2 separate regions of the Homo sapiens genome follow, and region 1 is linked to region 2. Evidence: promoter capture Hi-C in 16 types of primary human blood cells and fetal thymus (Javierre and others, 2016). All regions are on one chromosome and are shown on one strand. The core of a region is centred on a gene start or on the middle of the fragment in contact, and the rest is flanking DNA. Distances in the headings are between cores, read along the strand shown.

What was found. Contacts are between HindIII fragments. The CHiCAGO score rates a contact against its expected background, and 5 or more counts as called.
Region 1: a fragment that was not itself captured here is called in contact with the fragment with the promoter of MTM1 in region 2 in 1 of 17 cell types (M1 macrophages); the score reaches 5.8 in M1 macrophages.

What each region holds. Positions count from the first base shown.
Region 1 is chrX:150,189,439-150,195,930 of GRCh38, forward strand. No RefSeq gene overlaps it. Among named protein-coding and RNA genes, the nearest start is that of MIR2114, 35 kb to the right of the region's middle. The HindIII fragment of the contact is 2,479 bases long and covers 945-3,423 here.
Region 2 is chrX:150,566,918-150,573,088 of GRCh38, forward strand. It overlaps MTM1 (myotubularin 1), which reads left to right and starts at 1,704. Exons shown (of 15, transcript NM_000252.3): 1 at 1,704-1,745. RefSeq lists an enhancer at 1-221 and a silencer at 1,506-2,185. The HindIII fragment of the contact is 5,391 bases long and covers 1-5,204 here.

The DNA of each region.
Region 1 (6,492 bases), core at 934-3,433, 380 kb before region 2:
ACTCTAAGGCACCCCTGTGGACCTCTCCTCCACTCAATCTAAAGTGGATGTAAAAGTCTATCCTCATCTGGACAGGCCAAGTGGGCCCTCCATGCTGTCTTTCTCTAGCGTCATGCCCCGAGGCTCCAATGACTATATAAAGGGGCTGCTTCTCCAGCCCAAGCCCAGCAGCCCTAACCTCTCCCACTTTACACTGGCTCCTGTTTTCATCCTTCGTCCCTCCCAGCCACTTCCATGCCTTTGATAGCACATGGACTCAGCATCCTCAGAGTACATCAGTGCAGATCGTCAGATAGAGTGCCAGGGGGGTAAACATTTCAGTCATTCAGAACCCATTCCACTTGGAGCACATGGTATGTCAGGGACCCAGTCTATATTATCCCCAGGCGAAGTCTGGAACACAGAAATCCAGAGATTCCTAAACCCACCCAATAAACTTCCCCAGCCCTGACTGAGGTGTATTCCTATTTGCCCACCCTGTGCTCACCTACTGCCATCCCCCATCAACAGATATGCCAATCTTTTTTTTGGCCACTGTCTCCATAAGTGCCCCCTCTGTGCACATCATGGATTCCCTTCATGCTTGCTCTATTTCTCCCCACTGCTGCTAACCTCCTGACAGGGAAGTGGCACCCTTGGGCCACCAAAGTCCTTTAGATGAGCTGGATCCCCTCCTCCAAACGGCTGCTAGTGGGACACTAGGAGGACTCAAGTCCAGCTGTATGAGTTTGTAAAAGGGCAGAGGCAAGAAGGCTTTTAAGCCAGTGTTGCCAAGATGAGTTTTGGTAAGTGGGGGTGTTTGGATGGGAGAAGAAGCTTAAGACAGATCCTTTCCCATTGGGATGAAGCTTTGAGCCAGCCAGCTTTCTTTGTGATATGTGATGAGTTATATCACCCACCCAGGATAGAAGTTCCTGTTCATCCAGGTCCTCAGGACCAGAACAAGCTTCTCCAGGGCAAAATAAATCACAAAGAATCTCCTCAAGGGCCCAGGAAAGTGAATATTCAGTGGCAGTTGCTCCCTGACTAATGCTAACTAAAGTTAGCCCTGAGCTAGTACAACCTTCCATTCTTCAAGTGGGGAAATTGAGGCCCAGGCAGCTCATGTCTCCAGCTCTCCCCAGGGTTGAATGTAAGTCTCTTGATTCCCAGTCTTGTCTTTTCTCCACCCTACCACCTGACCTGCCCTTGGACACATGGCTGCGAGGGCCAGCCTTCCTCAGCTTACCACTCTCAATATCACTTTGACAAGAATTCAGATTTCACAGCCGTATCAGCAGGATGTTAAATGTTGCAGTGAAGCGTGGCTAAATGGTGACATCTCTAGCTTCATGGTGGTCAGCCTACAACTGAGAGGCTCAAGGTCAATAGCTGCAGGCCTGACAGGTCCTGGATCCACATGCCAATGGCAGTGGAGACAGATTTACCACAGGGAGCCCTGCACCATCAGAATGGATGCCAGCGGCAGACCTTGTTTCTTTCCTTTGATATGCCAAAAGATTAAGTTTGAGCCCCTAAGGACTCTCTAGGGTATCTTGGGAACTTCCACCAGCCAGTAGTCAAAGTGCCCTTTAATCCAGCTGAGTGCATAACTAGGGAACTAGAGTGTTGTCTTGGGCTACAGCTGAGATGGGGCTCTAGCAAAAAGCCTGGTGTAAACTTACTCACTCTTCTAAAGCCCAAGCAGCCTCTGCACAGAGAGCAGCTAAGTAAAGATGAAGCCTCTTAGGCCACTGAACTGACTGTGATGTGATGATCTTGCCATCTCCTGGAAAGAGGGGGTTGTGGGCCCATCACAAGAAACAGCCCAAAGGAAGGGCCAACCTGTGGTGGTAGCCCCTGAGCTGCCCACAGGGTGCCAAGAGACACAGTGTCAGCATTTTCATCTATGTCGTTATCATTGTTGCAACCCCTCCCAGACAACTACCTGACATTGAGTGCCTCCTGCATGCCAAGAATATTGTAAGCATTCACTCCTGTGTTGATTCTCACAAATACCCTGTGGGATTAGTATTATAATTAGGCCCATTTTATAGATAAAGAAAACAAAACTCAGAGAGGTAAAGTTACTCACCAAAGCCTTATGGCTGGTAAGCATGTGACAATGAGGTGAAGAAGCTGCCTCTTGTTCTTAAGGTGTTGCCAGTCATGTCTACAGAGTGTATGGAAATGGAATCAGTGTTTCTTTGTGGGGACTGGATTCAGTCTTGGTGATAAGAACTCCCATTTATTATCTACTATCTGCCAGGAGCTTTACATGATTATTCCATTTAATCCTCACAATAGCCCTCTGAATATGCTATTATTATTATCTTCATTTTAGGGAGGAAAATGAGACTCCTAGAAGTTAAGCAACTTGAGCAAGGAATCACAGCTAATAAAAACAGAGCTGGGATTTGAACCACTAAGCCAGTGGCTCTCAAACTTTTTTCCTCAGATCCTTTATACTCTTGAAACTTATTGAGAGTAAATCTACAGAAACAGAAATGAGATTAGTGGTTTCCAGGGACTGGGGAAAGAGCAGAAAGGGGAGTGACTCCTTAATGGTACGGGGCTTCCTTTTGGGGTGAAGGAAATGTGGAACTACAGAGGCGATGGTTGCACAATATTGAGAATATACTTACTGCCACTGATTATACACTTTAAAGTAGTTAATTTTATGTCATGTGAATTTTACTTCAGAAAAAAAAATGATATAATGAGGTAAATCAACAACAATGACAAAAACTTATTGAGGCCTCCAAAGACCTTTTGTTTATGTGGGTCATATCTATTTATGTTACCATATTAGAAAAAATATTAAAATATTTATTTATTTTGAAATTAAAATAATGAACTAATTACATGTAAATATAAATAGTATTTTTATGAAAATAGCTATATTTTTCTAAACAAAAACTTGTATTGAAAAGAGTGGCATTATGTTACATTTTTGCAAATTTCTTTTATGTCTGGCTCGCTAGAAGACAGCTGGATTCTCACATCTACTTCTTTATTCAGTTGTGAGATGTTGTTTGGTTGAAGTACATGAAGAAAATCTGGCCTCACACTAATATGAAGTTGAGAAAGGGAGGAATATTTTAATAGACTTTTCAGATCATTGTGGACATTTGTCTTTGATAGGACACAAAAACTCCACCAATGGTTGTTTTTTACAGGTTAAGTGTAATGTGGGATGCAAAACTTTATCAGTGAGCCTTCTCTACTTGGTTCCGTTGGACTCTCTTGTCTTTTGAATGGATTTTTTACCTATTTATTGTTTGGTAACATTGTGTATTGGTCGCTTTAAAAAATGGTGGTGCCCTGACTTATGGAGAGCCTCCATATGTTGACATATTTCATTCCACAACATCACAAGATCACATTTGTTAATATTATGACCCATCTCGTTGGAAAAAGCCTTTAACTGTTGAGAAGCTGTCAAGCTTACAGTGGTGGATACAAGCTTTTCAAAATTCAAATTTTTGCCTGAAGGCTCAAATTTTATCATTGGCAAAAACTATAGTCAGTTGTTTTCCTTGAAGTGACAGGCTCACTTCGTTCATCTACAAGAAAATGTCTGCCAAATACCCAAGTCTGAGTAACATTAGTTAGTCATTCTTTCAAGTAAATATGATGTTCTATGAAAAATCGGCCAGTTTAGCTCACAACTCAAAACACGCAGTAGTGCTTTGCCTTGAGTCAACGACTACACTTTGATTCCAGCAGAACTGCTTTGAGCATAGTTCTCATTGTGTCTCACCAAATTTTAAAAATAAGGGGACTCAAGGGCTAGTATTTAATAAAGTTAATTTTCACTGCTTCGCTAAGAACATTCGTAAGTGAAGCTGGCATTTTTTAAACTGCAGGTGTGTGGTGGTGAAGAATCCAATTGACAACTAGTACAGTTGGTGCCATGGTCCCAATTCATGCTCAGGAACCTGCTCTTTTCACCTACCTCTGCTTTTGCACCAGCAGTGCAAATGGAAAGCATGACAGTGGAATATCAAAGAACATTTCAGTATTATTGGGAAAATAGTTTTCACCTTGAGGATCCTCTAAAAGGGTCTTGGAGACCTCCACGGGTCCACAGATCCTACTCTGAGAACCATTGCACATGGCTATGCATGGTGCCACCTCCCTTACTTAAGAGCTTTGATGGCTTACTATCATCTGCAGAATCGGACCTGCCCTCACCCATGATGTCAGCCCAGGACACAGGGACCCAGCCAAATGGGCTCCTTGCCATTTTCCAAATGTGTCCTCTCATGCCCTTGTCACTGCTCTCCCCTCTACCAGGAATGCCTTCATCACCAACTCTGGCCATTGAAATATTACATATCCTCCAAGGCCCAGGTCAACCACTGCCTTTTCCAGAAAGCTTTCTCAGGGTTTTTTTGTTTTTTGGTTTTTTTTTGAGATGGAGTCTCGCTCTGTCGCCCAGGCTGGAGTGCAGTGGCACGATCTCGGCTCACTGCAAGCTCTGCCTTCTGGGTTCACGCCATTCTACTGCCTCAGCCTCCCAAGTAGCTGGGACTCCAGGTGCCCGCCACCGCACCCAGCTAATTTTTTGTATTTTTAGTAGAGACGGGGTTTCACTGTGGTCTCGATCTCCTGACCTCGTGATCCGCCCGCCTCGGCCTCCCAAAGTGCTGGGATTACAGGCGTGAGCCACTGCGCCCGGCCTGCTTTCTCAGGTTTTTAAGTGGAAAATGGTCATGCTTTACTCTGAGCTTCCTGAGCCCACTCTTGGAGCATCTTCTCTAGCACTTATCAGGCTGGGTGTCATTAGATGGAAGTATTTCCTCATCTGTGAGATCATCAAGAACAGGCACCAAGCCTATCCTCTCCATTTCCCCACAGGGCACCCTTGTTCATCATTACATTGGGGAACATATTTGTCTAATTGCACTGAATTGCCCAGAATGTAAAACTTAAAAATGCTATGTGGCTGTGGCTGGTAATGCTCAAAGCCCATGGAGCATATTCTGACTTTTTTGAGTCCCCAAGGAATGTCACCATTGGAACCATTGGTACTAATATTTGTGCATGCTTCTTAAAAATGGTCTTATTTCAGGTGTAGGGGAAGAGTGTTACACATCTGAATTACTCCAACCCCAGGAACCTCAGCTCCCAGGTCTAGAAGAACCCTTGAGAGGGAGAAGCCCCCTGCCACCAAGCTTTATTGAAAGTACAATGTCTCTTGCCACTCCCCTGCCTCCCATTTTGCGGATGACATGGTTCATAGCCCTGCAGGAAGGATGGGTGCAGTACCTGAGAGCCCACAGCCAGGAAGTGGTGCCACAGGTTGGACCTGAGGCCCAGATCCTTCCCTCCCAGTTTCTGTCATATGACTTGCAATTCAAACATGATCATGCTAATGGCTCCCATAGATCGCCCCACATTCTGTCCCTACATGCCCAGCCCAACCTGGACTGGAGGCTTTATCTCATTTAGGGCTCATCTTGGAACTCTGCAGAATCACAGCTGATGCCTGAAGAGACGCACTTGTTTATTTTGAAGGCCAATTTAATTAGGATGCCTTTGGCCTCAACAGTTGTATCCTGATTTCCAGGAATTGCTCTCAATTTAGAGTTGCCAGCTCACAGCATTGTGTGCCAGCCCTTTGCCCACCTGCTGTGCTCCAACTTCTCTCTCCTCAGTGATCACATTGGCTGGCAGGGGTGTGGAGCAGGAAAAAGGAGGGAAGGGTGCTTCTCCAAGGAACCTACACAGGCTTGAGCATGGTTTAGTTGGAGGAGAGGACCCAGACCATGGAGACCAAGGGACCGTGAACCAGGGCCCAGAGAACATATAGGACAAGACACAGAGATGGGTGAGAATAGTCAACCTCTCTGTGTGAGTTGGTGCCGGGATGGGTGGCCAGATAAACAATCAGGGCCTTAGGCTGTATCTACAGGGGCCAAGTATTCAGAACAAGGGGGTGAGTGTGCTGCTTTCTTCTGCAGTTCAACGTGTAAGGTGTGGCTGTGGAGCCAATTGTGAGTTAGACTTTTGACGCTACCACTTATTACCTGTACGACTTTGGACCCCTCTGAGACTCAGATTGTCTTTGTCATATTTTCAGAGTACAGTAGTAGAAACTATTTCAAAGTGCTGTTAGGAACAGTCAATGAGATACTAGGTGTCAAAGGTTTGGCACAGTGTCTAGTGGGCACAGCTCCCCTATTCTCTGCTCTGTTCTGCTCTGGTCAGCTCTGGGCCTCACATGTTGAAAGGCCCTGATAAACTGAAACATATCTGAAGAAGGGAAGGCTGGGGGTGGAGGAGCAAAAGAATTTCTATTTGCCTGGTAGAAGAGAGGGCACCTCCTGATGTGGGTGGCCAGGTTCCTCAATGTGGGGCTCAGTTAGGATGGGGGTGGGGTGGCAGAAGTGACTGAGGTGCAGGCGCCAGTGCACAAGAGGAAAGAAGACTTCTCAAGAAGTCAGAAACATGCTACTATCTGTTGCTTCAGGAAGAAGGGAGATGGAGACTGAGGTTCCTTTAGAT
Region 2 (6,171 bases), core at 454-2,953:
CGTGCTTTGAAATTCAGCACAAAAGTGAATGAGATTCAAAGGAGTTCATAGTCTGGGGAGGGGAGTTGGCAGAGCAGACGTGTAAGCAAATGATGACATCAGTACAACAAGAAGGGCTGGGTGGGGGAGACTTCTAATTGTGCGGGGGCCCAGGAGCAGCTGCTATTCTGCTGTCTTTCCAGGAGTTTGGCAAATCCAGGAGAGAGGACCAAGTGGAAAGGGCTGGAGGAAAGAAAAAACCCAGTGCATCAAGTTCCCTGGAACTAGGCCAGAGCTTGGGGTGAAGAGCAAAAAGAGGCACACTGGGAGAAGTGGCTAAAGAGTGGGTTGGGTTGGATTCTGGATGGCTTTGTTACTCTTCTAAGAAGTCTAGACTCTTCAATAAAGCATATATATATGCATATATAAATGATATATGAATATATGTGTATATGTGTGTGACTATGTAGAAACACACGTACACATATACACTGGTATCAGGTAAAATGCTGTTTTTAGATGCTGGAGAACTAACACATACAAGAGAAAAAAAACAGGTCATGATAAAGTCATCCTATTTACTCGAACTGCTCGCGTATAAGTATTATGCAGTACAAAGAATATTATGCTCATTTTTCTATGTGCCAGGTTGTCTTTTCTTTTTTTAATTTTTTTGACACGCAGTCTCGCTTTGTCACACAGGCTGGAGTGCAGTGGTGCCATCTCAGCTCACTGCAACCTCTCCCTCCCGGGTTCAAGCGATTCTCTTGCCTCAGCTTCCCGAGCAGCTGGTATTACAGACACCTGCCACCACGCCTGGATAATTTTTGTATTTTTAGTAGAGACGAGGTTTCACCATGTCGTCCAGGCTGGTCTCGAACTCCTGACCTCAGGTGATCCGCCTGCGTTGGCCTCCCAAAGTGCTAGGATTACAGGCGTGAGCCACCGCGCCCGGCCCAGATTGTTTGTTTTATTTGATTACACAATGAATTCTCTTCTTGAAGTTTGCCTTTCTTCTCTTTTTCCTGTCCCTTTCTTTTTACTGTATCAATAGTTGTCTGACCCAAACCTCAACAAGTAGAAGGAATTTTGGACTGAAATGTTTCCGTTCACTAAGTCTCAATTGCGTTCTTGGAAAGGTGCTGGCACAGCTGAGGGACACCCCAGCTGTTAGTTGAGTTTGTGAATTGCAGATCCTGCCCCAGAGTCAGTGAAATTTCTTTTTCCCTTATACTATCTCAACTTTACGCAGCCAACCCTGTGTACCCAATAATAGCTCAATTTAGTGGCATCCGCTAAAGTCTTGTATAGAGAAGTTTTCCCTCTGGATTTCCCCTTTACTGAAGAAAAATGGGGAGACCCAGACAAGGGTCCCGGGACTACGCTTCCCAGCCGCCTCCGCCCGGCGCCCAGTCCAACTTCCCTTACAGGGATGGCCCCTGGCATCTTGGCCCCGCCCATCCCCAGCACCATATTGCGAACTACAATTCCCAGCTGCCTCCATGCGTCGGACCCTTCAAAATGGGCTTCCCAGCAGCCTCTCGGGCGAAGAGCCCCGCCCTTCGGAGCTGCTCCCCAGGTCGACCCGGCGCACTCTTCCTGCCCCCTGCCCCGTCACGTGATGCAGTCCCGCCAACCGGCACGGGGAGGCGGGCAGCGGGCGGTGGCCGGGGGCGGGCAGGCCGTGGGGGGCGGACCCCAGAGGGGGCGGAGCAGGGCCCGGCAGCCGAGCAGCCTGGCAACGGCGGTGGCGCCCGGAGCCCGAGGTGGGTGCGCGCTCACGGCTGGCCTGGCTCGGAGCCGGGCACTGCGGGGACCCGTGGTGAGGGGATCGGGAGGAGGAAGTTGGGACTCCTTGGGCCAGCGGGTCGCGCGGGGCCTTGCCGCACCGTCAGGGTTGGGTGGGGGTTTCGTCCAAGCGCCGTCGCTGTCCCCGCGGGGCAGGGCTGAGGCCAGGGAGCAGCAGGCAGGTACCTCCGGCTTCCTCCCGTTCTCCCCGCCCAAGGTGGCCGGCCGGCGGCGGGCGAAGGTCGGGACGGGGGTAGGGGTTGGCTGGCCGTGGAGCTGGGGGCGGACGTCTCAGCCACTGCCTGGACTTTGCTTCCCCGTCCCGGGGCGGTGAGTGGGCCGGGCGTCCGCCCTGCCTCCCCGGCGACGCTCCGCGGCTGGTCCTCGCCTTGGCCCTCCGCACGGAGCGGGCGTCCGTCGCATCCCCGGTGGGCCCTGCGGAGCGGCCGCAGCCCGGCACTGGCCGCGAAGCCTCGATGGCCGCTCTCGGCCAGTGTTTCTGTGTCATACACGAGAGGTTTATCTGCTTTTGCAACAGTTGAGGGAAGATCTTAGAGGGAACGGTTAGTTCCCTGATACGCAGTCGGAAGTATGTACAGGCACGAGCAAGCGCCCGTGGCCGGGTTGCCTCCCTTAACTGTCTTTTGCTGCGCTCAGGAAGTGAAAACTAATTTTAGTATTTGCCTAAGCAAGTAAGAAGTGAATCTGCTGCAAAAATTATATTAGAGCTTTATAGACGCACGCATCGTTTGAGGCGAAGTGGGTTGCGACTGGTTTTGAAACAGATACACCAGATCTTCACAAGAATAAAATTATAGCATTTTAGAATTGACTGGCATCCTGAAGTTTACATTGTTCATTTGTTTCCTGGATGGGGGAACTGAGGCCCAGAGAGGGTAACTAATATGTCCCGGGCTTCAGGGCAACTTAATGGCAAAGCTAATATCACAAGCCAGCTCTTTGGGGGTATCTTGGTGTCTGTCTAGTCTGGATTCTTTTTACCACAGCTCAGTATTATTCCTTGTGAAATAAGCACCTTAGAGTCTTGAGACTGAGCCAGCAATTTTGCTAGACTGCAAACCATTTTGAATTTCCTTCAAAATCGGTTTACCAACCAAATAAGACAATCAGGCCTGTTACTTTGCAGACACGTTTGCCTTCATCCAACATATATATTGGGCACGATCATGTATTCACCAGATTTGATTCTGAATGGCTTTTGGCTGCTTCACAAAATCAAATCTACTTTTCAGAGATTCCACACCATGGGGGAGATTTGAACCAGTGGTGCTGCCTGCAGCACCAGTGTATAGTACCCTCCCGGGTGCTTGAGGGTGGATAACATTCACGGGGGGCTTGTAGATTCTAGTGTAGTTAGTAAATGATTGGTCTCTTTAACTTAAAGTTCTAACTACATTTATTAAGTTGTCGATGGTTTCATTCATTCATCAAACACAAGAATGCCAACGGTGGGCACTGGGAAGACAGCAAAGAGCCCCACTGCTGAGGTCCCTGCCTTATAGAGTTTATATGTGGGGAGGCACACAATAAAAAAATAAACAATGATATATTTTCTGGCAGAGATGAGCGCTATGAGAAAAAATAGAGCTCTGAAACCTTACAATGACAGTGAAACAGGCTGGCATGATTGAGAATGACTTGGGCATTACTTTGAATTTCTAGTTTTAGATTGCCAGCTGCTGCTCCAGTAAAGGAAATAAATCCAAAAGTAAATCTCTGAATCAAAGAGATTTTTTGGAGTCATCATTTCTCCAATGAGTGTCTTTTAGATGGTAAGCTCATCCCAGCCTCATTTTTACTCACATTTCCCCCCACCCCGACATGCAAACAGTAAGTGATTTCAAATACCTAGAGAGGTATTTTTCAAATCCTTTGCTGTTTTCATAGTTAGATAGCTGACTGTAGCTACAGAAAGCTCTGCTGAGGTCAATATTGGTTGTTGATTTCATGCCGGTGTCTGCTGGACTCTCAGGCTACCTTGCACAAGGGTTTCTCTTCCTGTGCAATGGTTTGTACTGTGAACCTCTTATCTGAAATGATCATCAGTCCTTGTGTGGTTTGTAAAGAAACTAGTTCATTTTGAAATAGCTCAAGAGAAAAGAAGCACTCATTCTTAGGAACAAGAGTGCTCGCTAATAAAATGGCATTAATGAGAGTTGACTGTAAAAGTTCATCTGTTTAATACCTTCTAAGTTCTCTCATATTCTGTATGTTCAATGGCTTCAAAGCAAAATTTTAAACTTTTACAGGTCTGAAAAATAATTAAAGTTACAAAAAATACTTTAATATTTTTTGTTCCAAAATGAGAGGCAGATTAACAAAATGTAGTTACTTAGAAACCACTGAAAACACATGGTTCTTGCTCTTATTGAGGGCTCCAAAATAAAGAGAAAAGTGGAGACTCTCAACGATTAATAGGTGACATTTTAAAGGGGTAACCAGAGGATTTCAAAGGCTGGAGTTTCTCATTTCTAAAGTTTATTCGATTTTGTAACAGAATAATAGATTGTTTTCATTATTCTTTAGTAATTTTCCTTTCCTGTTTTCGACCTCTTTGAAGTTCTGCTTTCATTATTTTCTAGTTTTCTAGTTCTTTATTTCCTTTTTGGCAGATGTGGGGGATAGGGACCGTCATTTGCCTAGAAGATTTTGACTCTGGATTGGGCAGCCTGCCCCAATTTGAATCCTGGACCTAATATTATCTGTGTGACTTTAGGCAAGGTACTTAACTCTGTGCTTTAGTTTCCTTATCTGTCAAATGAGAATAATAATAGTACCTTTCTCAAAGGGTTGCTGGAGGGACTGAGTGAATAATCTATGCTAAGTGCTTAGAAAAGTGTCTTGCATGTAGTAGACACTAAAGAAAAGCTGTTATTGACTTGAACGATATGGAACTCTTTTGTTTTTAAGAAAATACATTATTCTAGCTATGTCTTAATAAACTTTTGGAATCCAGTAGCTTGCTTTTCTCGACATTTCTCTGCATTTCCTTGTTGGCACGAGCTTTTGGTTCCAGGCGACGCTGGCAGCAGTGTCCTCCGTTCTTGCAGTGCTATATTCCCTTTACCATTTGGACTTAGAAATTTCTTGAGGCCAAATTTTGTTGCTACAAACAATAATAGAGCAAGAGAGGCCTTCTTCTAGTTTATCTGCCTTGAAAGTGAGAGTGTATCAGGAGACCCAGTAGGAGTTACTGAGTTAGGTCCCGTTGTCATCCTGTAGTTGGGGGAAGATTTTTCATTGGAAATCTTTGCAGTGTATTTTTCCACTGTGAGTACCACGACAGTCTCATCTTTTTCTTTTTAAGAATGTGGAGGCATCTCTTTAGATAATTGGCATTGTGTACTACTAGTGCTTTCTATTTCTACCAGAGGAACTATGGTAAATGAGCCTTTTGTTTGTGTGAGGTGGTAGAAAGCTTCCTGCATTTGGATTCCAGAAGCTGAGTTCAGGTCCCAGTTCTCTTCCTTAACTCTGTGTCACTGGACAAGTCATTTAACCTTGCTGCTAGTGGCTCTTCCATCTGTAAGATAGAGCTAATAAAACCTGCCCTGCCAAGTTTCCAGAGTTCGTCAGAGAATCAAATGTGCCTCAGAGCCCTTTGTAAAGTGTGCAGCATTATTATTATTGCATGAATGTGTTGTATAAGCAGTTGCTATTTGGAGAACTGGTATAAGAGGGCAGTTGTCCTTCCTGTTCTTGGACTGTCTTCCCTGTGGCTGTAGGTGTGGCCTCTCTGCCTCAATCTCCCTCTTCTGTCATCATTAAAATATGCAGGTATTTATATTGCCTCTTTCATAGGGGCCTGATGTCACTGGTATACCATAACAAGTTTTTGTTTTATGTATTCCTAAAATGGTAGTAGTGTATAACCAACAATCACAGGGTGACAGCAAGGCAAGCTCAGCCTCAGGGAATGTTGCCTGCCTCTCCCAAGTGTCTCAGAATGGAAGACTTTCTCTTTTCCAATCGAGACCTGACCGCAGCTCCTGAGTCCATACTAGACTGGATGCTTGTGCTTCTGGGGTTAGAATAAAAAGCGATCCAGGCTCTGGGGAAGAGATGGTTGATAGCTCCCCAGGTCTGTACCATCCTCCTTGCTGGAACAGGGCAGGCTCCTGAGTGATAGGGCAGGCGCCTGAGCGGCCTTTTCTCGTTAAAGTTGTTTCTCAGTATCTTGAAATGTCTCTGTAAGTTGCACTTTGCAATGAATTTCATGTACTTGTATTAGTTTAGTATTGCTGTTCCTTGACTGTTTGTCTTAATAGGTAACTCCTACATATTTCAGTATGTTTTTCATTTTCTATGATTGTAATAAAAAGGGCGAGGTTGGAGATATTTTTTCTGATTGTCTGAAACCTAAGATGGTCCTATACACACAGT